Linked DNA regions of Homo sapiens: region 1 is linked to region 2. The links are contacts of gene promoters, found by promoter capture Hi-C in blood cells and fetal thymus (Javierre and others, 2016). All regions are on one chromosome and are shown on one strand. Each heading gives the region's core, a stretch centred on a gene start or on the middle of the fragment in contact. The rest is flanking DNA. Distances are from core to core; before and after follow the strand shown.

Evidence for each region. The method cuts DNA at HindIII sites, captures the fragments that hold promoters and counts their contacts. A CHiCAGO score of 5 or more calls a contact.
Region 1: a fragment that was not itself captured here is called in contact with the fragment with the promoter of KCNJ12 in region 2 in 1 of 17 cell types (M0 macrophages); the score reaches 5.4 in M0 macrophages.

The regions. Positions count from the first base shown.
Region 1 is chr17:21,126,939-21,133,527 of GRCh38, reverse strand. DHRS7B (dehydrogenase/reductase 7B) reads right to left here and starts at 6,564. Exons shown (of 7, transcript NM_015510.5): 1 at 6,537-6,564. The coding sequence starts at 6,556. RefSeq lists an enhancer at 6,243-6,589. The HindIII fragment of the contact is 1,899 bases long and covers 704-2,602 here.
Region 2 is chr17:21,374,966-21,380,915 of GRCh38, reverse strand. KCNJ12 (potassium inwardly rectifying channel subfamily J member 12) reads right to left here and starts at 4,559. Exons shown (of 3, transcript NM_021012.5): 1 at 4,003-4,559. The HindIII fragment of the contact is 5,395 bases long and covers 1-5,009 here.

The DNA.
Region 1 (6,589 bases), core at 404-2,903, 240 kb after region 2:
AGAGATAGATGCATATTCCGATTGCCTCCTTTGGAAGTCTCATCAGAAACTCAAAAGAATGCAACCATTTGTCTCTCACCTATCTGTGACCTGGAAGCCCCTGAAGGGGGGCCCCACTTTGAGTGGTCCTGCCTTTCTAGATGGAATTAAAGTACTTCTTACATATATTGATTGATGTCTCATGTCTCCCTAAAATGTATAAAATCAAGTTGTGCCCTGACCACCCTGGGCACATGTCATCAGGACCTCCTGAGGCTGTGTCATGGGCACATCCTCAACCTTGGCAAAATAAACTCTCTGAATTAACTAAGACCTGTCTCAGATTTTCTGGGTTCACAGTACCATACATGGCTATTGAAAAGGAAAAATATTAATAACAATTACTAACTTTTTTAAGTATTTGCAATGTGCCAGACACTGAAATACACATTCTCCATACCCATGATCTCATTTCATCCTCACAGCAATCCGGAGGTAGGTATGACAGTTATTTTCATTTGCTAAATAAGAAAAGTACGTGAAGTCACATGGCTAGCAAATGGTGGAAAAGAGATTTCAACCAACGTACTCAGACTCTGAAGCCCACATTCTTAACTCTTAAGTGCATCAAATAGGGGGTCATGTAAAAAAAAAAATCCTTTAGCTGGAACTTTAAACAGGAAGGATTCTAATACTGTCTAAGAGATGAAGAGATCCCTAAGCTTAGCTCTAATCACCTTGTTATAAGAAGTTTAGCCTAAAGCTGCCTCCTTACATATTTTAAGTTTAGCCTAAATGTTCCTCCATAGCTAGTGACCTGTAACCTAACTGGATGTGCAAACAAACTTTAACCTACTCTTGTAACAAGTAGCCCAGTCTCAGCCAATCACAGCAGCCCAGTTTCAGCCAGTCATAGGCAGCCAACTGCTCAAATAAGGCAAACACTAGGCTGCAACCAATCTAGCTCTTTCTACACCTCACTTCCCTGTTTTTTTTTTGTTTTTTTTTTTTTTTTTTTGAGACAAGGTCTCCCTCTGCCACCTAGGCTGGGGTGCAGTGGTGTGATCATAGCTCACTGCAGCCTCAACCTCCCAGGTTCAAGCGATCCTCCCACCTCAGTCTCCTGAGTAGCTAGGACCACAGGCATGAGTGGTACACCTGCATATCTCTATCTATCTATCTATCTATATATATATATATTTTTTTTTTTTTAAGAGATGGGGTCTCCCTATGTTGCCCAGGGTGGTCTCAAACTCCTGGGCTCAAGCAATCCTCCTGCCTTGGCCTCCTAAAGTGCTGGGATTATAGGTGTAAGCCACTGGGCCTGGCCTGTACCTCACTTCCATTTTCTGTATGTCACTTTGCTGTTTCTGTCCACAAATACTATCCAACCATGTAGCTACCCCAGAGTCACTCTGAACCTATTCTAGTTCCAGAGGCTGCTGATCTGCAAATCATTCTTTGTTCAGTTAAACTCTGTTGAATTTAGTTTGTCTGAAGTTTTAACAACTCAAACAGAATACAAAGGCTTCTAAGCAACAATTGAACATAAACAAGTTAGCTGCTTAATAGGAACTCAGTACAGTTTCTTTGATTCAGTTTAGCTAACATTTTAAACCAATCTGGATTATAATGCCATACTCATAGAGAATTCTGCAATGGTAGTTTCTTAATGTAGTAGTATCCAATTTAATGACCACTAAGTGCTGCTCATATAAACTGGAAAAATTTATATCCCCTTCAGAAATTAGTGTTCCTAGTACAAACATAGCCTTACTTAATAAAACACTAGCTAAGTACAGCAAGGAAGCTCAAACCACTGGTAAGCAATATTCAATCAATTTATCAGTCATCTGAACCAGAGCAACTCTATTTTGAATAGAGGCTGGGTAAAATAAGGCTGAGACCTACTGGGCTGCATTCGCAGGTTAGGCATTCTAAATCACAAGATGAGATAGGAGGTCACATAAGATACAGGTCAGAAAGACCTTGCTGATAAAGCAGGCTGAGGTAAAGAAGCCGGCCAAAACCCACCAAATGGAAAATGGCAATGAAAGTGACCTCTGGTCATCCTCACTGCTCATTATATGCTAATTATAAGGCATTAGCTCGCTAAAAGACACTCCTACCAGCACCATAACAGTTTACAAATGCCATGGCAATGTCAAGAAGTTACCCTATATAGTCTACGAAGGGGAGGAACTCTCAGTTCCGGGAATTACCCACCCCTTTCCTAGAAAATTCATGAATAATCCACCCCTTCTTTAGCATATAATCAGGAAATGACCATAAAAGTGGCCAGCCAGCAGCCCTCAGGGCTGCTTTGCCTATGGAGTAGCCATTCTCTTGTTTCTTTACTTTTCTAATAAACTTGCTTTCACTTTTCTCTATGGATTGGCCTCAAATTATTTCTTACACAAGATCCAAGAACCCTCTCTTGAGGTCTGGATCAAGACTCTTCTCCAGTAGCAAATTCAGTGGCCATCACAGACCTCTCCCTCCACTAAGCAGTTTAAATGGCCAAGCCTCATGTTACTGGGAACTTTAGAAGATAGGAGGGAGAGCTCAGGTAAAATCCTAAGGAATTTGTTGTATTTCCTATCTGGGTGGGTGGCAAGAAGCTTTCAAACTGAATTTACACACCATTCAATCCCAATTTTCACCCTCATGCTTATGGCCTTCCAGAATAGAGAGTTCATTTTTGCATTAAAATAACATTGGCTACCAAAGAAAGGTTTCTTATGTGTATAATGGGGTGGGAATGAATAATTCCTACACCATCCAACATTATGGATGTTGCTCTAGTCCAACATTTTACTGTACTGTAAGTAAATTTTTTTTTTAGTTGTCATGCAAACATATAGTAAAAATTTTAAAACTGAATTTTCACTGTTTCCAAAGGGAAAGAGATCTTCTCTCCTTCCTTTTCCTCACAGCATTTCTTTGAAAAACCCAGTATTTATAAATTATTCCTCTGTCCCTTTGATATGTATGCAAATCTTTTTAAAGGCTAAATAAACTACCCCTAGCTTAGCTTGTTTAAACCCAGTAAATACAGTAAAACCCAGGACTGTTTTTCTGAAGGGCCTGGAACCCCCCCTTTACAAACGTACGTACATACATACGTAAGTTTATTTATTTATTTATTTATTTATTTTTTGAGGTGGAGTCTCACTCTGTAGCCCAGGCTGGAGTACAGTGACACAATCTCGACTCATTGCAACCTCTGCTTCCCAGTTCAAGCGATTCTCCTGCCTCAGCCTCCTGAGTAGCTGGGATTACAGGCACACGCCACCACACATTTTTGTATTTTTAATAGAGACGGGGTTCGCCATGTTGGCCAGGCTGGTCTCGAACTCCTGACCTCAGGTGATCTGCCCTCCTCAGCCTCCCAAAGTACTGGGATTACAGGCGTGAGCCACCGTGCTCAGCCAAACCCCCTATTTTAAATGGAAATATCCAGGAAGACAATGCCCCAGCCCTATCCCTATCACTGTGGAAGTTTAGCCTAGGCACCTCAACTACTTGTTTTATCATAGAGCTGTTTCATGTTTTCCTTTGGAAAAAAGTAACTAGGTAGCACAGATGACCAACCCAATTACCAGGTGAATTTAGAATGAACTATGAAAACATGTACAGCAAATGGTGCTGTCAAGTCTTCTTATAAGAGGACAAATTACCATTAATCTTGAGACTACATAATGGGTTGTATCTGCTCAGCTGCATACAAATAAGTGGTGGGATTTCTTTTCTGAAAGAAACTGCATTAGCATATTATCCATAATACATTCCAGTCTGGTTTAATGCTTATTTTTTTCTTTTTCTTTTTTTTTTTTTTTTTTTTGAGTCAGGGTCTTACTCTGCTGCCCAGGCTGGAGTGCCGTAGTATTATCACAGTTTACTGTAGCCGCAAACTCCTGGGCTCAAGTGATCCTCCTGACTCAGCCTTCTGAGTAACTGGGACAACAGGTACACACCAGCACGCCTAGATAATTTTTTATTTTTTGTAGAAATGGGGTCTCCCTATGTTGCCCAGGCTAGTCTCAAACTCCTGGCCTCACATGATCCTCCCACCTCAGCCTCCCAAAGCGCTCGGATTATAGGTGTGAGCCACCACCTACAGCCTCACAGGGGTCTTTAAGTAACAAGATACAAGCTCCTCCTAGTCTCAAGACCTCACACATGCCCTTCCCTCCTCCTGTTAGCTCTTTGTCCAATTTAACTCCAACTCAGTCCTTTAAGTCTCAGCTAAATATTATTTTCTTGGGAAAGCCTTCCCTGTCTCTCCTCATTTCCCCCTCCGCATGCCGGTGACTCCATTATGTATCCTCACAGCACCCTCTACTGTCCTCCACAGCATGCATCACAATCGTAATTAATATTTAGTTTTATTTATATATTTACTATCTCCCTTGCTAGATTTATAAGCAATTTAAAGACAGGGGCTTTATCTGTTTTGATCATCATTGTATCCACAACACCCAGCACAATGCTGGTACACTGTAAACGTTCAATAAGTATCTGAAGGAATGAATGAAATTTGTAGCTAAGCGCTAGGTTCTGGAGTGACATGGCATTGGATCGGCCTTTACTAGCTCTATGCCTTTGTTGTTGTTTGTTGTTGTTGTTGTTGTTGTTTGAGACAGGGTGTCACTTTTTTTTTTTTTTTTTTTTTAAGACGGAGTCTCCTCGCTCTTGTCGCCCAGGCTGGAATGCAGTGGCGGCATCTCGGCTCACTGCAACCTCTGCCTCCCAGGTTCAAGCGATTCTCCTGCCAAAGCCTCCCGAGTAGCTGGGATTACAGGCGCCCACCACCACGCCCGGCTAATTTTTGTTTGTTTGTTTGTTTTGAGACAGAGTCTCACTATGTCGCCCAGGCTGGAGTGCAGCGGCGGGATCTCGGCTCACTGCAAGCTCCGCCATCCGGAGCACGCCATTCTCCTGCCTCAGCCTCCCTAGTAGCTGGGACTACAGACGCCCGCCACCAAGCCCAGCCAATTTTTTTGAATTTTTTTAGTAGAGACGGGGTTTCACCGTGTTAGCCAGGATGGTCTCGAGGTCCTGACCTCGTGATCCGCCCGCCTTGGCCTCCCAAAGTGCTGGAAATACAGGCGTGAGCCACCGCGCCCAGCCAATTTTTGTATTTTTTAGTAGAGACGGGGTTTCACCACGTTGGCCAGGCTGGTCTCGAACTCCTGACCTCAGGTGATCCGCCCGCCTCAGCCTCCTAAAGTGCTGGGATTACATGTGTGAGCCACTGCGCCCAGCCAAGACAGGGTCTCACTTTGTCACCCAGACTTGAATGCAATGGCGTGATCTCGGCTCACTGCAGCCTGTCTCCCAGGTTCAAGCAATCCACTTGCCTCAGCCCCAACAAATAGCTGGGACTACAGGCGTGTGCTACCTTGCCTGGCTAATAGCTCTATGCCTTTGGATAAACTTCTTAACATCTCTAAGCCCATTTCTCCCTCCATAAATAAAAATTATAGTTCCTATGATTAGGGTTATTACAGGATTGAATAATTCAGTAAAGGGATTAGTACAGTGCCTGTAACATAGCAAACACTCAAAAAATATCAACTATTATTAAGGAATGGAGAAAAGGGGACATGTACATGGTAGGGAAGGCATATTCCACACCCTTGGCAAAGGCACAAACATAGCTTCCATTATGCAAACACACCGTTGCAATCGGCAACAGTGTAAGCAAGAATTCTGCTTACTAAATGTATGAGTGTGTGAAACCCAAACGTTACTTCAAAAGTAACTTCACGATTCTCCAATCACTACATGGAAGGTTTGGAAACTGAAAAAAAGAGCATTATGTGGCTACCATTTGTTGAATACCTACTATGTGCCAGACACCAGCTGAGCACCTTGCACGCGCAGTCTCATTTACGCTTCACAACAACCTTATGAGTGGGCTTGTTACTCCCAAAGTTACAGCTGAAGAAACACTCAGAGTTTAAAACATTTGCCCAAAGCCGCACAGCCAGGAAGCCGCAGAGTAAGTATTGGAAGAGCAAGATATCTCAACCAGCCATTCCCGTGGACGCTCGAGTCAGCACCCTCCTCCTGCCTTCTGAAAAACCGGACTTCCTTTGCTAGTCCTAACTCGCCGTCACTGGCTAAGGTGCCACTGGCCCCCAGCGCTCAACCCTCGGTCCTGCCACTCGCAGACGCTGCGGAGCCTCCCCTACGTCGCGCAGAAATGTGGGAATAAACAGGTTGAAGCCAGGAGCCCTGTGGGCGCGAGGCCTTTCACACACAGCGCCCGGCGCGACACCCATTCCCAGCAGCGGAAACTGGACTCAAGACACCTCGGCGACAGGCGGGTTTCCCCGCCACGCACTCGCCGGAGCCAGGGCTCTGGTCCCAGCGCCTGGGCTGAGTCTTCCTTCAGAGTTCGGCGTCGCGGGGATCCGGAAGCCGCCCAGGGCCCGCGGCCTTAGCTCGACCACTACACCGCTTCCCCTCACCCAAGCCGGGGCGTCGCCTCAGCTCAAGGCCAGACCCTATCGCCTCATCTCGGAGGTTCCTTCTTCCCCAGCCCCTACCTGGTAGCCGGAGAGACCATAGTCAATCAACTTCATCCTCCCGCCTCGGAAGT
Region 2 (5,950 bases), core at 3,310-5,809:
GTGATTGGGGTTAGGGGACACTGAGGACACACCAGGAAACAGGAGGCCTGCACTGGGGCCCACTGCCATCTGGGGCCCACTGCCATCTGGGGCCCACTGCCATCTGGGGCCCACTGCCATCTGGGGCCCACTGCTACAGCAACTCGCTGCCCTGCCCTGGGCCTGCTTCCCTACATGTCCAAGGGAAGGTTGGATGGGGAAATGACGAGTTCCCCAGGCTCTGGCTCCACAAATGCTCACACCCCCTCCTTCCCAGATCCCCCTCTCCACACGTCCATTTCTACTGAGACCAGCCCCTCCCCACCCCCAACTCCCAGAGGCACGCTCCAAGTCTCACATTCCTACTGCCCCATCCTGAGCACTCTCCGGAGCCAGTCCCACTTCACAGATGATGAACTGAGGCCAGGAAGAGTGACCCCATCTTGGTGGCAACATCTGCCTCTCTTGCCCCCCTGAGTCTGTCCAAGAGTCTCCTCTGAGATAGTGAGATCCCTGAGGGCAGGGGCTGGGTCTCCCCGTATGCAATGCCCATTGATTAAGCACTTCTGTATGGCTACCCAGCACAGGGGCCACAGCTAGGCAACAGGGCCTGGGGTCTCCAGCCCCAGAACTCAGCCCCCACAGCTCTCACCAGCACAGCAAGGCCTCTGTGGCTGGAAGAAGCAGTCCAGACATGGAATCATCGAGCATTTACTGGGCACCTACTCTGTGCCAGGGCTTAACTAGGTCCTAGGAATACAGCTCCCGGGAGCTGGGATGGCATGCAGGCCTCAGGCCCTGTGTGGGACCTGCCTGGTGGTAAGGCAGGGAGAAAGCTAGCCTGGCAGTCAAATGCCCCTGAGGGGTGTGTCTGTGGAATGGGGGAAGGTGCAGTTCTGTCCCTGGGAAAGCACCAGGGCTCTGGGTCTGAGCCCCACAGGCTGGTGCCTCCAGTGCCTCCCTGGGCCTCCAATCCCTGTCTGCACAATAGAGCTAATGCCACCCTCTGCACTGGCAGGCCATTAGGAAATTAAGTCAGCTGACCCAGGGCTGGGTCCTTGGCCAGTGCCCAGCGGGGGCTCTGGTCCTGCCCCGAGCCCAGCACCTCAGAAAACCCACCTGCCTCTGCCAGGCCCCCCCCCACCCCCAACCCCATGGTGCCTCTGAAGCTCTGGCCAACCTGCACACGGCCCAGTTTCAGGCCAGCTCTCTTTCATCTTCAGCCTTTCCCTGCTGCCGTGTCCCCATCACGCTGCCAGTTCCCGGCACAGCCATCCCGTGGGGCTGAGCCCCCACCCACCGCACCTTCCATGTGGCCAGCCAAGCCTCCACCCCTCCTGCTGCCCGCAAGCTGCCCCCTCCCTGACTCTCCTCCACGCTAGCCGGTGGCAGGGCTCCAAGGGCAGGCCCGGGGAGGGGCAGGTGTACCCATGTGTCGCTCACAGTAAAGCCCTGGCCAGGGCCCAGCCACAGGCACCAGCTGCACCTGTTGGAGGAAGGGCCCAGCCCAGAGCTGGGCCTGGGAGCAGGGGGGGTGAGGGTGGCCACTGGGTGGGCACCGTGTGTACCAGTAGCCTTCTGCCTGGGGACCTGGCGAGGGCCACAGAGGTTGATGACAGTAATGATGCACTCACTTCCGCCCCAGCCATATGCCAAGGCCTCCGGGTGCCACGCTTGGTACTGCCAACTGTGGCCCAGGGTACCGGAGGCCTGGCTAGGCAGAGAAAACTGCCCATAGGCAGAACCGGCCCCAGTGCTGCAGAGCTGCAGGTGCTGCTGCTGCTGTTACTCCTGTTATCACTGCTGTCATTATTATTTTGCTGTTGCAGGGCCACTCAGTGTTACTTTGTCCTGCTTCAAGGAGACCCAGGGATGGGGACACCATGGCCCTGGGGCAGGAAGGCTGGTGGGGTAAGCGCCTGGCCTGGAAAGAGCTAGGTGAAGGCATCTGTCCAAACCCAACCCACTGCATGGTTTTAGGCAATACCCCTCCACCACTTCCCAGGCACCTCTTCCTTCCAGCACAGTTGAGGCACATTCCTGGAGGGGTCCCCTCCGGGGCAGCCTGGAAACCTTATGGGGTTTTGACGGGGTAGCTGCAGGGGGAGTGTCCAGAGATGGACTGACAGCTCAGGTCCTGCCCCTCCCAGAGAAGGCTCCACCCCCTTCAGTGCTGGGGATGAGGGGTGTCAGCCATGCCCTCCCCTGGGAGGGGAAAAAGGAGGTGATAGAGGACTTGGAGCCCCTACCTGCCAGCTCTGGGTCAACAGCCAGCATTTACAGACTGCCTACTGTATGCCTACAGCGGCCCTCCAGTGGAGAAGAGGGGTGTCCCTGTGGCCCAGCACACTGGAGCCACCCTCCTCGTCTCCAGGGTGCTCGAGTGAGTGCCCTCCGCCCTCACTCCCTGCTCTCTCTCAGGCGGCTTGGCCCCACCAAATGGCAGGCCCCCAGGGTCCCCCTCCTAGAGCTGCCAACCTCGGGTCCCCTGTCTGGTTGGAGGTGCCACCAGAGAACTGAGGGGCAGACTTCGCTGTGAAGTCTTTTGTTGGGGGGGGCGGTCCCAGCAGACACTGAGGGGCTCTTCTCAGAATACAGAAGGGAGTACCCCTCAAAAAGAGCGAAAGCCTCTGGTGGCGCCCAGGGCTGAGATGGACCTCCCCTCTCTGACCCTCGCCCGCCACAGGGCGGCGGTCCAGGGCGGAGCTGCGCGAGGAGGGGCCGCGGAGGTGCAGCGCAGCGCGAGGGAGGCTGGGGTCCAGCCGCGCGGCCAGGGACCGGCTCTCCTTTGGCATCTCAGAGGGGGCGAAGGCTAGGCCCAAGGCTAACGCCTTCCGGGTTCGCACCTTCCAAAGGCGGCTGCCGATTTCAGTGGCGTGTGGGCGCCTCGGCGCTCTCGGAGACGGAGCCTGTGAACCTGGGTTTGGGGCGCAGATGTGGGAGCCAGGAGGTCCCCAGCGCTTTATTGCAGGGCTCGAACCTGGGTATAGGGGAGCAAAAAAGAAACTAGAAATGGCCACAGGCAGCGCGGTACTCTAAGATGGGAACGCCCCCTGGGAAATGGGGAGGGGGAGGTCCCAGGTGCGGGCGAGTCCAGGCTGTGAGGAGGCAGGAAAACCTCCCAGAACAAGACCGTCCCCAAAGAAACACTTTGACCCCCATTCTGATCACAGGTTTTAAAATATTCACATGACATGGGCACGCTGGATCAAAACCGAGGCACAGACACTCGCTTGGGCCTCAACTCCCATCTGAACCCCCCAAGGAGCGCCCCACCCCAGCTGTCTCTGCCCATGAGCCCCTGATTCCCGCCCCGCTCCCCCAGGGCACCCGGAGAGGCCGTGCGCGCGCAGGGTGGACCCTGGCCCTGAAACCCTGGGAGCTTCTCAGCCAGCGGCCATCCCCTCGGAGATCAAGGCCGACTTCTAAAAGCAAAAGGGAGCCTCTGGACTTGGCTGACTTGCTGGCATGGAATCATTTCCAGAATATTTTTACTCCATTACAGCACGGGAGGTGAGAAAGAGACACGACTCCAAGAACCCGCAGGTCTCTGACGGGAGGCATTCTCGGGGCGGCTCATATAGCCCGGGCGCCCACCTCCGAACCCCACCTCGATCGCGGGGTCTCCGGGAAGGTCACGCGTAGGACCCGTGCCGCGCGCCAGAGTGCTTCCGCACGCTCCCTCCCGAGCCCCCTAGTGCAAACCAGTCAGAGGGGGGCCGAGGGCTCCTCAAAGTTTCCCGGAGCGCCCCCCAGGACGAAGGTTAGCCAGGAGCAAAGTTCCTTGTGGTGGTAGCCGGAGACATGGCAGGAAAAGAAAAGCTCGCAGTCAGCATTTCCTCCGATGTCTCACCAAGGGAGGGAAAAAAATAAAACGAGAGGAAGAAAACACCCTCCCGCTCCACCTTCCCTGTTGCTGCACAACCTCGTGCTAGCTCCGGGCCGGGCTAGTGGCGAGGCGCGGCCTGCGGGGAACTGGGGCCGGGCCCGGGAGGGACCATGCGCCCGCGGCCGCGCACTTACCTCGGTCAGTGGCCCGGGCGCGGCGCGCTCGGCGTCCTCCAAGCTCCGGGCGGCCGTTCCTGGCCCCGGCAGCTGCCGCGCTGGCTGCATCGCCGCCGCTGCCGCCACCGCCTCAGGGCAGCTCCCGGGGGCGCTCCATGCCGAGGGGCGCGTCTTCTCTGCAAAGCGGATCGCCCTGGTCCAGCCACGGGTCGGGGGCGCGCGCCTGGACGGCGCCCCCGGCCGCTGGGCGCTCGCTTGGGCCGGGGCGGCTGGCGTCGGTCCCTCGGTCCGGCTGTGAGCACGGCCGGCCCACCCCCTCCCCCGCCGGCTGTTATCTGATCTCGGGCAGGGCCCGGCGCGCTCCCCTACGCCCCGGCGCCCCGCACCTCCTCGCAGGCTCTGACCGCGCCAGTCCCCCTCCCCCGGCTACTGTTCCCAGGGAGGCGGCAGCAGTGGCGGTGTGGCCGGGAGAAGACGGGGAGCGAGGAATGGAGGGCGAGGAGGCGGCGGGAGGCAGAGGCTCGGCGCGCACCCAGCTCCGCGCCTCGCTCCACCGGAGCTCAGCTCGGCAACTCCTCTAACTCTCCGCGGAGAGCACGCCCGCCCCGCGCCGCGCCGCGCCGCGCAGCCGCTGCACCAGCCTACCACGGCTCCGGCCTGGCCCCGAGCCCCTCCTAGTCCCGGGCCGCCCCCTACACACACACCGCCAGCCACTTGCGCACTGGGACGCGCGCGCGCACACACACATATATATATACACACACACACACACACACACACACACACACACAGGCACGACTTCCCGGGGACATGCGCGCACACACACATACACACACATGCAGGCACGTCCGCCGGGGACACGCGCGCACGCACAGGTGCATGGCGAGCACACACACAGGCATAAACATGCAGGATACATGCCCCCACATGCATGATGTTCGCAGGGGCACATGTGCACACTCGCTCATATGTGCACATGCAGGATGGCATCTGCACGTGTGCATACGCACACACAGGTCTAAGCTTGTGCATTCCCACAGAGCCCTTTTCCCCTGCACACCAGGCACGCACCCTCTACACACACCATCCCACCCTAATAGCATTTTTCTCCTCTCCATCTTGAGCTGCTTGGCTTCTCCCATCTCCTGCCTTCTCTGTGCTCCTCCCTGGACCTCTCTCTGCCGACCGGATCCCCATGTGACCCCCTTCTCTTTCGAGCCCCTGTCTCTGGAGGCTCAGGCTTTCTTCCCAACCTGTCCCCAAATGCCCTGCCCTCCCAGCTTTCTGAGGCCTATTGTCTGGGCCTCATATCTCTGAGCCTCCCGCAGGGGCCAAGTCTTTCATCCTGGCAGACAGACCTGCTCGCCTGGACACTGACCCAGGGGAACTCCATTTTGTCACCAGTCTGACCCCCAGCTCGGCCCTAGGGCCTCAGAATTGGGCCGAGGAGGCCAGTCTGTGCCCAGAGCATGAGCCTCAAAGGGCTCCTTGGCCCCCTTGGCCTCCAGCTTCCCCTTTAATGTGAAATATAATTATGTGTCTGCACAGCAGGGAGACTGGCTGCAGGATTCTAACCGAGGAGGACGGCTCTCTGGCCCGCACCCAGATTGCTGGCGGCTCAGAGCAGAGTGATCTGCAGGCCCCACCAGCCCTAGGATCCTGGCCCCAGGCAGCTGGTGGGTGAAATCCAGCCCAGCACTCACCGACATCAGTCTGCCCTGGGTTTGAATCCCACCTCAACTGACTAGCTGTGGGACAGGTCACTTCACCACTCAGTGCCTCTGTTTCCCTGTTGTCAGTAGAAATCACTACACTCATGGGGCTGTAGCAAGGATTAAATGAGATGAGTCTACCTAAAGTGCTTAGCACTTGACTTGGCTGGTAAAACAGCCAGGCGGAGCACTCAATATGTTCTGAGCTCTGTGCTATGGACCCAGCTAGAATTATTTCATTACCACTGCGGCCA